2 separate regions of the Homo sapiens genome follow, and region 2 is linked to region 1. The links are contacts of gene promoters, found by promoter capture Hi-C in blood cells and fetal thymus (Javierre and others, 2016). All regions are on one chromosome and are shown on one strand. Each heading gives the region's core, a stretch centred on a gene start or on the middle of the fragment in contact. The rest is flanking DNA. Distances are from core to core; before and after follow the strand shown.

Region 1 (6,074 bases), core at 1,746-4,245:
CATTTAGAAAATACTTTGTAAAGATTTTATGAGGTGTAAGTCAAAGTGCCTTCATATCTTAACACCTGCAGGGCACTATAAAGTGGTACACGTGACCAATTTTTTCTAAGTCAAACAAATACCTAAGCATAAAAGTAGTGGCTCTGGTGATCGCTAAATCTAACTTTTAAGTTTTTAAGAATAAACACCAGAAGATAGAGAGCTGTCCTTGCAAATATGGTGGTTATGTTAGGCAAATCAAAGTCTGAATTCCATTATACTCAAGTTGTTTGATTTGTTTAGTTTTAAAAGCTTTTCTATCAATTTGATGAACAAGGTTCCTATTTCTTTTTCCATAAATGTAACACTTCTCCACAGCAGTTCATTTTTCATTGGTTTTTATTTCACATCTTTCCTGTCCATCCCACTGGACAAGCAACTCAGTTTACTTTTGCTTTACTTTTAAAACTCACAGCAGTATTATAAGTCATATAAAAATTTCAAGCTTTTTTGTTACAGAAACTGTTCTTCCATCAGTGCAGACCATTTGAGATTTTCTTAGAAATCAAACTTAATTAAATAAACATAACAGCAATTTGTCTGACACACACTTGTTCAAGTATTAACATTTCTCCTCAGGGAACTAAGGGGCAACCAACCTATTCTTCATTCACCTTCAAGTTAAACAACTTCGTTACAAAACAAAACAAAAAAGGAGGGAATTAATAGCAAAAATAGAAGGCATTTCTTATATTCCAGTCAGTGTGCAAGCAAAATCACTGGAGCAAATCATAAGTTGCTGGAAGAGAACAATAAGTACTTCAAGGCCATAATGTGCTACTTGCCCTCTGTGATAAGCAAACTTTAGTGGCATCCAATCTAAGTTTATATCACAGGTCAATCAAAATCTTGCCTAACCATTAGCCGTTACTCACACATATATATGTATATGTATTATAGTTATTAGTGCCAGAAATCTAGTGACCAAAACCACTAATCTAGGACCGTGAACGATTCTACGCAAACTCACCAGAAGAAATTATGGATCAATAAAATCAATGAAATTAAAATTTTGACTGCAGAGTCAACTGAAACAATTTCATATTCATGAGACTGTTAAGAACATAAACGCGGGGTTACCTTTTGCCTCCTTTTACAGCAAAAGGCTTTATCTTTGTGCTCAAAGTATGGAACAGTTTACATACTTTACTCATTTATGAAATATACTGATCTCCAAATGTCTTCATAAAATTGGTAAACACAGAATAAAGTCAATTGTTTATTTTCCTATAGCCAAACGTGTCCTGTCTGAAACATTCAAGCCATTCTACAATACATTTAAGAATTGTGTTGGACACTGCTAATAGCTATTTTCCAGCCTTCCTTCCACACGCACCTTCTATTGCCAAAATACTGTAGTAAGGTGGGATATTATTGAAAGAGGTTATAGACATTCAAAAGGAAATGAGAATTTATAGATGAATTTATACAGCACCTACATACCAACAAACGCACTACTGCTACATCAAATTTGTAAATCTTCCTTTTAAAACTGAAAGGTGTTAGTTGATCTGCAATGGTGTAACTTTAAAAAGCACAGTAAACCCATGAATGCCTATATAAAGCCTCAACAATTCAGTCCACTGCAACACCACAAATTCAAAGGAAATGTGGTCAAGTTCTTAGGGGCACAAAAATATTTTCGCTCAGTTAAAAAAAAAATGCCCTAGTAATAATATACTCTCAGTTAATTACCTGAAGTTTCATGGCATATATTTAGGTCTTTGGAAACTTAAACACACACACACAATTTTTAAGTAGCAGCGCTGCTAATGGTTTTAGACGCTGAAGCATGTGCATTCCTGAATTTACCCCGTTTAACAAAAAGGGGGACGCGAATATTCACGATGATCAACTTCTTCAATGCACTGCTGGGCCATGTTAGGGTCTTCCTGAAACTTTTGGATCTAAAATCTCCTCCGAAATCCACAAAGAGAAGCCACTAAAAATCAGTTGCCATTGTGATTTGGTGCCGACTACCGCTTCTTACTACTCTTTCTTCACAGCCCTCGCCCAGAACAGTGGAGCTCTCCGAAGTCCCAATGCTAGACCGGAAAAGAGAAGCCAAAGGAGACCTGAAGCCCTCTTGGCGCTGCAGGAGGCGGCCCGGCTGAAGCGCCCCCCGCTCCTCCACAACTACCCACACGACAGGCCCGGATCCCGCTGGGAGATGATGTTTAGGAAAGGGGGAATAAGCCATCGCCGTCACTTAGCGCCGATTTCGGCCCTTCCCGCCCGGCTCTAGTACCTGCCGCCGGCCCTCGCCCATCCCCAGCTCACCCCGGCGGGGCTCGGCGCCGAAAGAGAACCCTCTCCTCGCTGGTCTCTCATTTCGATAGGCGCTAGGGCCTCTCGGAGTCGGAGAGGGGCTTCCAACAGGCCCCAAGTCCAGTCCTTCCCTCCCAACAACATCCCGCCGAGCGTGCCCTGGCACCCAGGCGCGGTGCTCGGGAAGAGGGCCCCGGGCCTGCCTCCCGCCGACACCAAGAAGAAAAGGGAGGGAAGGAAGGGCGAAGATGGGGCCTGCCCTAGAGCCAAGTACCTTGTAGAAAGCGCCATTGGAGCCCCGCACTTCCACCACCAGCTCCTCCATCTTCTCTTCAGCCCTGCTAGCGCCGGGAGCCCGCCCCCGAGAGGTGGGCTGCGGGCGCTCGAGGCCCAGCCGCCGCCGCCGCCGCCGCCGCCGCCGCCTCCGCCGCCGCCGCCGCCGCCGCCGCCGCCGCGCTGCCGCACGCCCCCTGGCAGCGGCGCCTCCGTCACCGCCGCCGCCCGCGCTCGCCGTCGGCCCGCCGCCCGCTCAGAGGCGGCCCTCCACCGGAAGTGAAACCGAAACGGAGCTGAGCGCCTGACTGAGGCCGAACCCCCGGCCCGCTGCGGGTGTAAACACTGAAACCACGTCACGTGATCAACGCTGTTCCCTCCCCCCGCGGGCTCAGCCCCTCGGCCCCGCCCTCTCTCTTCAAGTGGCCTGGGAGCGCGCGCATGCGCGCTGCTGGGAACCGGCCGGGGTGCCGGGTCGAAAGACAGACGCGCGGGCCGGGCGTGCGCGGGCTTGGTGGAGGGCGGGAAGGCTGAAGGGCGGTGACAGGTCGCACTGCCTCGCGAGGGCCAGAACGCCCATTTCTGCAGAGGTGCACTCAGTGGCGTGGGAAATCAAATGCATCCGGTTATCCCAGTTCGGCCTCTCTGGGATTCCGCGGGAGGGGGTGTCTGGTCTGGTTTGGTTTGGTTTGGTTTGGTTTGGTTTGGTCCGGTTCAAAGTAGCGCAGTCTGACTGAGCGGGAGGTGGAGTGGAAGGCGAGAATAGGGGTGAAGGATTAGACAGAAGAAGACTTTGAACTAGGAACAGTGGCAACCAGGGTGACCCAGGCTTTTGTGACCCGTAGAGGCAGAAGGTGAGGCGTCTACGCCCTCTCTCACCAGATTTTGGGCGGCCCTGTGGAGACACCCTGTGCCCTTTAAGGGACATGGATTGAGTCGGGATCTCAAAATGTGAGCCTTTCCTCAGACCCAGCTTTGACCCACGTACTCGCCTTTCCTCAACTCATTTTCATACTTTCACTTGACTATATATTTTTTAAAAATTGTGTTAAGCACTTGAGGTTCATTTCTGCCCCTACTGTATGTGCACCCTGTGCCAGAGGGTGGGGTGAACACGTGTGTAGCAGTCATGCGTCCTGTCCACAGGGGCCGATGCACCTCCTTGCAACCCTTTACATTCCACTGTGAAACAAACCTCAACTTTTTCTTATTCCTGTTTTTACACCGTGCTTATAGCTGCCTTAATCCATGTTCCCTTCGGGATGCTGGTATCCAACTGAGAAGTTGACGGAGCATCTATCGTGTGCCAGACACTGTGCTAAGTGCTAACGAGAAATCGGTGAGCAAAACAGAAAAGAAAAAAAAAGAAGAAACGACTGCCAGCATTGAACTTAGTACCTAGCAAAGTAGGTGGACATAAATCAAATTGTCAGACAAGTAAATGAGTAGTTGCAGCTGTGATAAGGGGTATGAAGAATAGGCGCTTCCATGATGGCGGAACATGACCTAGTCTGGGGTGGAGAAGGGGAGATGATTCCAGCTGGAATATGGCAGGTGAGAGTTAACTAATAGCACTGAGTTGGCAGAGGCAGGATGACCTGCCCCAGGCAGGTGCCCCAGAATGAGAGGATGTTGCTGCTGGTGGAACTCCAGCTTTAAAGCGGTGGATCTAGGGCCACATTCCTCAAGGCCATAGCAAACAGGAAAGACCTTTTGGACTAGGGTCTTTGGAGTAGTCACATGAGGCCAAGAACCCAATAGGGCTGAAAGAGAATCTCATCATAGGCTGAATGGGAGCAGAGCATTAGCTGCAACTCCAATGTATTATAGTAAAAGGGGACACATTGATTAGAATGATTATACCCCTCCAAGTGTAAGCTGTTGTTCAATTTACCCAGGGCTTAAAAATATGTCAACTCTTCACAACCATTTTTACTACAAGCCACACTCAACCTGTGTTGTTCCCTGAACCTGTGATGCACTTTCATCCGTTCATGTCTCTACACATCCTTCCTGGGCCCCATAGAGGCCCTGCACCTTAAGGTTTTCAGCTGGATTCCTATTAGCTAGTTATTTTATCTCAGGTACAGAGAGTTAACTTTGCTCCTCAATTTTCAGCACATTGTCATATCAGTCCCTACAGGGTCCTTGTTTACATTATTTTATAGTGTTTATATTATTTTTTCCTCATCTTTCTCGATCCCCACTCTCATTCTTCTAGACACAAGCTGCAATATGTTCGATAGAGATCCTTGATAATTTAACACAGATAATGTTTTGTTTATGCCTCTTGCATTTACAGAGATGGTATTGGACTGTAAATCTCTATTTCCCACTGTTTTACTCAACAGTCTGTTTTTGAGCTATACCCACATTGCTGTGTGTACACCTAGTTTGCTACCGAGTATGCCAGAAATTTTATTCATACATATCCCTACTGATCGGGCATCTAGGTTACTGCCAACTCCCTGAAGTCATACTGTGGTGAAAACCCTTGTGAATGTCTTTACAAACCTTTGCCAGAACTTATTTTGTGCTCTTGTAGAACTTTGTGCATACCCTCTGCTTCCTCATTACACTGCTTGGCATATAGCAGAGACTCAACAAATGTTGAATACCTCTACTATGATGGTTAGTGTACTAGAATAATTTATTTATATTTCTGTTTTCCTTATTGGATTATTAGTACCTTCCAGACAGGGCAAATGTCTTTTCTATCTTTGTGTCCCTGGCACATTAAAAGTGGTTGATTTCAAGGTATGTTCAATGAATGAATAAATACTTATCTTCACTGCCAGTACATACTGCAACTTAGTCTTCCCCACTTGACTCTGAGTCTCAGCCTTACTCTGATCTCTAGCTTTTGATATTTCCCCTTTCAAGATAGCTTACCTGAATTCAGACACTGAGCTCAGGCCTGATCATGAGCCTGCTCTTCCAAAGTCCTCTCTCTCTCTCTCTCTTTCTCTCCTGTCTCTCGTTACAGGCAGCTCCTGCCTTCCAGTTCGTTGCTCAAGCCTAAAACTGAGACATTTTGACCCTCTTTCACACATCAGATCCATCAGCAAATCATTGTAGAATCCAGACTCTGTTTCTGATCATTTGCTCAGCTAAAACCATAGTCCAAGCTTCCATTCTCTTACCTGCATTATGGCAGCAACTTCTTCGCTGGTATCCCTGCAGTCACTGTCCACTGTTGTACCCTCTCTGACAGTTCTCAGCACAGAAGACAGAATGACCCTGTTGAGGTGTCAATCAAGTCACTCTGCCACTCACAATCCCCCAGTGACTCCCTACATCTCTCAGAGTAAAAGCCAGAGTCATTATTTATTCTGGCTTCAGTGCCCTATATACTCTGACTTCTGTTATCTCCGCTATCTCACCTTCTACTTTCCCCCTTCACTTCATTCCAGTGCATGAAATCTATCTAGTTCACCTAGATTTTCTCCTATGTTATCTTTCAGAAGTTTTACAGTTTTGTGTTTTGCATTTAG
Region 2 (5,449 bases), core at 2,518-5,017, 1.7 Mb before region 1:
TAGGCGGGAAGGTAAATTATATTCCTATTATTAAGTCAAGGCTGGAAATAGAGGTCCTCAAGAGTATAATTTCTAATTATTTCAAGGACATCCTCTGTAGCAATTCCCTTTTATATGAGACGTGAGCATGTGTGTATGTGTAATTTATTCATTCATGGAAAGTATAATACATACACTAAAATGTTCATGCCATATGAATATGACAGATGGCTGCCTTTTTAGAAATAGAATCAGTTAGTGATAGAACTTGACCATTTTCAGAGCATGTCAGCCTTTTCCAGTCTCTGTGTCTTGGTATAGCTAGTTCCTTCTGCCTGGAATACTTCCTCATCTCACTTGCTTTCCTGCCTGGCAGCTTCCTACTTGCCCTCTGGAACCAGCTCTAGGGTCACCACATCTCTGCTTCTGAGTGCCTCCTCAGACACAGTCTGTATTTCCTCTTCCAAGCTCTCATCACAAACATTGTGCTGTATTATATGTTTCTGTGTGGTCTTCCTTCTATGAGGAAGCCTTGGAAAGCAGGAGACTTATTTTAGTCTTCTTTATGTTTCTTTTATTCCCAACACATTATGTCTGCCCCATAGACCTTTTCAATAAATGATTATTGAGTTAGTGACTCCTTTTACATGCTGACAAATGTGGCTCTTATTACTCCCCATTTCAGTATCACATATTTGTAAAAGTGAATCCTTCTTAATCGTTTTACTTTTCTCCTAGTAAATTCCTCATCTATGCCTGTCTGCTGCTGTTCTCTGTGCTGCTGGCCCTTCGTTTGGATGGCATCATACAGTGGAGTTACTGGGCTGTCTTTGCTCCAATATGGCTGTGGAAGTTAATGGTCATTGTTGGAGCCTCAGTTGGAACTGGAGTCTGGGCACGAAATCCTCAATATCGGTAATACTGCTTTATACAACCCATTGGTCTCTAGCATGAGGGAGCAATATCTTGACTTTTCTCACTTTTGATGAAGTAAGGACCATTTTATTTTCTACCTATCTGGGGTCTTAGAACTATAGTATAAGCTAACAGATCTCTTCTGTGTTTTTGAAAATTTAGTCTTTGGTATGTATTTTCTTACAAAAGCAGTGCCATTTGGGGGTAAGTTGCCAGCCAGCTCACAGATGCCTATATAATCCAAAATGCACCCAAAATACAGAACTGGTATGCCATACTAGACTAAGCAGCATGAAACCACCCTGTTTTTAGGAAAAGACACTCATATTATGTTTGGTCATGAAAGATCTTTCTCCAATACAGTTTTGGAACTGGGGCTCCCCTTGTCCCACCCTCCTAGTCCCAGAGCTTTAGGACTATTAGCAGTGTAGGGGAGGTGGCTTGACCAGGAGACCATGAGTCCCTGAGACAGCAGCTGGGGAATGAGGAAAGTCAAAGATTGGATGCCGAGAAGGAAAGCAGAGCCTTTGGGGGCAGGGGAGAGGGGTACCCTTTACCGTTTCCAACTCTTGCCCTCCCTGCTCTTGGATGCCTCCGCTGGCCCAAATTCCTGGGAGTTGGCTCACGCCAGCATGCAACCTGCTTGTTGCTGGGACCTGCGAGAGTCTTTCCCTTCTCTGCCACAGAGACTGTAACTACATAAAGGGAAAAAGGGGGACTTAAGACTGGGAGGCTATTATGAACCTCCACTGGGAAAATGAGGAGTACAGGAATTCCCAGAAGGCAGCTGCTCATGTGGGAAAAGTGTAAAGTTGAAACTACCGCACCTTTTTTTTTTTTTTTTTTTTTTTTTTTTTTGAGACAGAGTTTCGCTCTTGTTGCCCAGGCTGGAGTGCAATGGTGTGATCTCGGCCCACTGCAGCCTCCACATCCCGGGTTCAAGTGATTCTCCTGCCTCGGCCTCCTGAGTAGCTGGGATTACAGGCACCTGCCACCATGCCCAGCTAATTTTTTGTATTTTTAGTAGAGATAGGGTTTCACCATGCCAGGCTAGTTTTGAACTCCTGACATCAGGTGATCCACCCGCCTTGGCCTCCTGAAGTGCTGGGATTACAGGTGTGAGCCACCACGTCCGGCCACTACATCAACTTTTTAAATTTTTGTTTACTAAATATGAAAATGATTCAGATTGTGTAAATTACATATCACATACATGTCTAAGAACTGTAAAACAGTTACACAGAGAGCCTTGGCAGGTGAGGGACATTCATGTATAGCTGTTTCAGAGTTCTTAGATTTTTTTTGAAAGATTGATGACCTGTGTGGCTGTATGTGTTTTATTTTTTTATGAGATATTTTCAGATATCTAATATTAATTGCTTCTCAAAGAATGCAAAGTTAAATAAACATTTAGGTTCTACTAATTGATATTTAGAATATATTCAAACTTCTCTTTGTTGGTCTTATTTAAGATGTTTTGAGCAAGGAAAGGAATTGTGTATGTGGGGTTGAATGTAAGGAATGTACAGGCGTGGTCATTCTCATGTTAACATTAACCAGTGGAACATGGTTGGGTCCTACAGGAATAACCTCTGATAGCATTTTCTCTATGATCTAACTTCCGGTGTATTTGTCACCCACAATACATGTATATCATAAATGTTCATCTGTATTTTGAATAAACATTGTAGGCCTTTCAGATGCATTATAGAGCCTTTTCCTGATTAGCGGCCTTACCATTGCTCAATTGTAGATCTGTTAAGGTTATTGTGCATGATACTTAGCTAATTAAACTGATTTTGTTTGAGAACAGTTTTAACTCTTGTTCTTCTTTCTCTTTCATGTGCAGGTGTTAATTTATCTTAATGGAATAGAAAGGAAAATGAAAATCATTTATACGTTTTATTTGCATTTAAAAATAGCACCTAACAATAGTTACTACTATCTTGAAATATAACTGGCACTTGTTCATAGAACTAGAGTTATTTTTATAATATTGTGTGAAGGGTGGTTTACATGGTTTCTTGAAAAATGAGGATCATGAGACTTAAGGGGTATTTGCCTGGTTTTAGCAGCAGAAGCAAATCAGCTTGAATAATCTTGGAAGTAACTCTTGTTGTTGAATTTAAAGATGTGAACAGAAGTGTTTATGTACATTGTCAGGGAAATAAGAACTGGCTATTACTTTTGAGAATATCCTTATACGGTTAAAACATTAAATTCTGGTTTGGTTGTAATGTTCATTTTGTATTATGTAGTAGTTCTTCGATGTTTCAGAGATTGCCTACCAAAGCTTAGGTTTAAGTTAGCTTTCTACCTGATTTCCCTTTGCTTTTGTCAAATTTTCAAGTAAAATTCAAAGTATAAATATAAGTTGGTATTTGCCCTGAACTGCTTGCTTATAGTGGAGATTCTGAACTGAGGGTGTTTTCTTCTTCTCTCCCTTTTTTAGAGCAGAAGGAGAAACGTGTGTGGAGTTTAAAGCCATGTTGATTGCAGTGGGCATCCACTTGCTCTTGTTGATGTTTGAAGTTCTGGTCTGTGACAGAATCGAGAGAGGAAGCCATTTCTGGCTCCTGGTCTTCATGCCGCTGTTCTTTGTTTCCCCGGTGTCTGTTGCAGCTTGCGTTTGGGGCTTTCGACATGACAGGTCACTAGAGGTGAGATTTCATATATTTAAGAATGTTTTCCACTTTGGGAGGTCAAGGCAGGTGGATCACTTGAGGTCAGGAGTTTGAGACCAGCCTGGCCAACATGGTGAAACCCCATCTCTACTAATAATACAAAAATTAGCCGGGTGTGGTGGCATGCGCCAGTAATCCCAGCTTCTCCGGAGGCTGAGGCGGGAGAATCTCTTGAACCCAGGAGGCGGAGGTTGCAGTGAGCCAAGATTGAACCATTGCACTCCAGCCTGGGTGACAGAATGAAACTCCGTCTTAAAAAAAAAAAAAAAGAATGTTTTCAAAAGTAAAATATTTTGCTCAGTTATTCAGATGTCAATTTCTTACCCTTTGTTAGGAAGAGCTTGATCATTACCAACTCTACATCATGAGACAACAAGGCAACAAAAGATGATGGAAATAACAATTTTTCTTTCTTCACTTAGAACACTAGCTTTTCACCCAGGACATCAGCCTTCTCCCAGCTTCACATCCTGTATCAATCAGACAGAAACAGAACTGATAGGTTAGATACAGATATATGTATAAAGAGAGTTAAGGAACTGGCTCACATTACTGTGGGGCTGGCAAGTCTGAAATCTCCAGGGCAGGTGAACAGGCTGGAGACCTAGGAGGAGTTGACACTGCAGTCCTGGCACAGAATTTTTTCCTCTCCAGGAAACCACAGTTTTTGCTTTTAAGGCCTTCACCTGATTGCATGAGGCCCACCCATGCTATGGAGGGTAGTCTCCTTTATTCAAAGTCAGTACCTTCACTGCAACAGCAAGCTTAGTGTTTGATTAAATAACTGGGTACTATAGCCCAGCCAAGTTGACACTCAAAACTGACCATCTCCCCACCTCAGACCCCATGATTTAGCACCTCCCCTGCTGTCTGGTTAGCTTATCCTGATGTGCCCCTGTGTTTGTTTATTCATTCAATAAACATTTATCAAGTATTTACTAGATGCCAAGCCCTTTTTCCCTAAGCATAGAGGATATGCAGATGAATAAAATACCAGGACTAGTAATAATAGTAATGAAAGTAATTGCAGATAACGTTTATTGAGCACTTACTGTGTGCCAGGCATTGTGCGAGGCACATTACATGTGGTAGTTTTCTTACTAACTAACTCTGTGAGGTAGGTCCAGAGAAGATAAGTCATTTGTTCATGGCCACATGTGAAGGGGCAGGACCAGGATTCCGTTTGAGTCAGCCCGACTCTAAAGCCCGGGCACATAACTACATAACTGCATAGAAGCTGAGGGCCCAAAGCTGAATACTGATGGGTTGAGGGGAGAACTAGAGGCTGTAGATGCCTGGTTTTGAGCCGTGTGGATGAAGAGTGAAGGGAGAAGACTGCAGTTGGCTTAGGAAGTAAACATAGCAGCTGTAGGGTGGGTCAGGCATATAAGCCTAGACCCCAGGTATGGGCGTGAGGGGAAGGTATGTAGACAGAGGGACGGTGATGGAGCAAGGCCCTGTGGGACTCAGGGAGAATGGGACCTAGAGCACCAGGAAGGGTTTGGCCTTGAACAAGGGGAGCTATTCCCTGATTTTCATGCTGGTGGAAAGGCCACAGCATGGGTATAGTGGTAGGTAGGAGTGAGCCGTGGAGGGAGAGTATCTGATGGTCCACTTTCACCCTCCCTACAATTCCCAGTTTATATCAGGGACTTGAGCATCCATGGATTTTGGTATCCACAGGGGGTCCTGGAACCAATCCCCCACAGATACTGAGGGACAACTATACAAGGACTAGGACTGCATTGGGCCTGAATTACAGAAAGTAAGTCTTTCATATATTCACACTCTAGGCATTCCTGCCCTTGGAAGAAACAACATACCAGGAGCTGAGCTCCCTCCTCCTGTGATGCAAGAACAGTACCTATGTT

The links. Contacts are between HindIII fragments. The CHiCAGO score rates a contact against its expected background, and 5 or more counts as called.
Region 2: a fragment that was not itself captured here is called in contact with the fragment with the promoter of FMR1-AS1 in region 1 in 4 of 17 cell types (total CD4 T cells, neutrophils, total B cells and 1 more); the score reaches 6.6 in total CD4 T cells.

Annotation. Positions count from the first base shown.
Region 1 is chrX:147,908,738-147,914,811 of GRCh38, reverse strand. FMR1-AS1 (FMR1 antisense RNA 1) reads left to right here and starts at 2,995. Exons shown (of 2, transcript NR_024503.3): 1 at 2,995-3,170; 2 at 3,817-5,381. It overlaps FMR1 (fragile X messenger ribonucleoprotein 1), which reads right to left and starts at 2,893. Exons shown (of 17, transcript NM_002024.6): 1 at 2,582-2,893. The coding sequence starts at 2,632. RefSeq lists enhancers at 2,473-2,572, 3,153-3,362 and a silencer at 2,733-3,072. The HindIII fragment of the contact is 5,224 bases long and covers 487-5,710 here.
Region 2 is chrX:149,606,732-149,612,180 of GRCh38, reverse strand. It overlaps TMEM185A (transmembrane protein 185A), which reads left to right. Exons shown (of 7, transcript NM_032508.4): 2 at 718-894; 3 at 3,347-3,554. Among named protein-coding and RNA genes, the nearest start is that of HSFX2, 14 kb to the right of the region's middle. The HindIII fragment of the contact is 1,155 bases long and covers 3,190-4,344 here.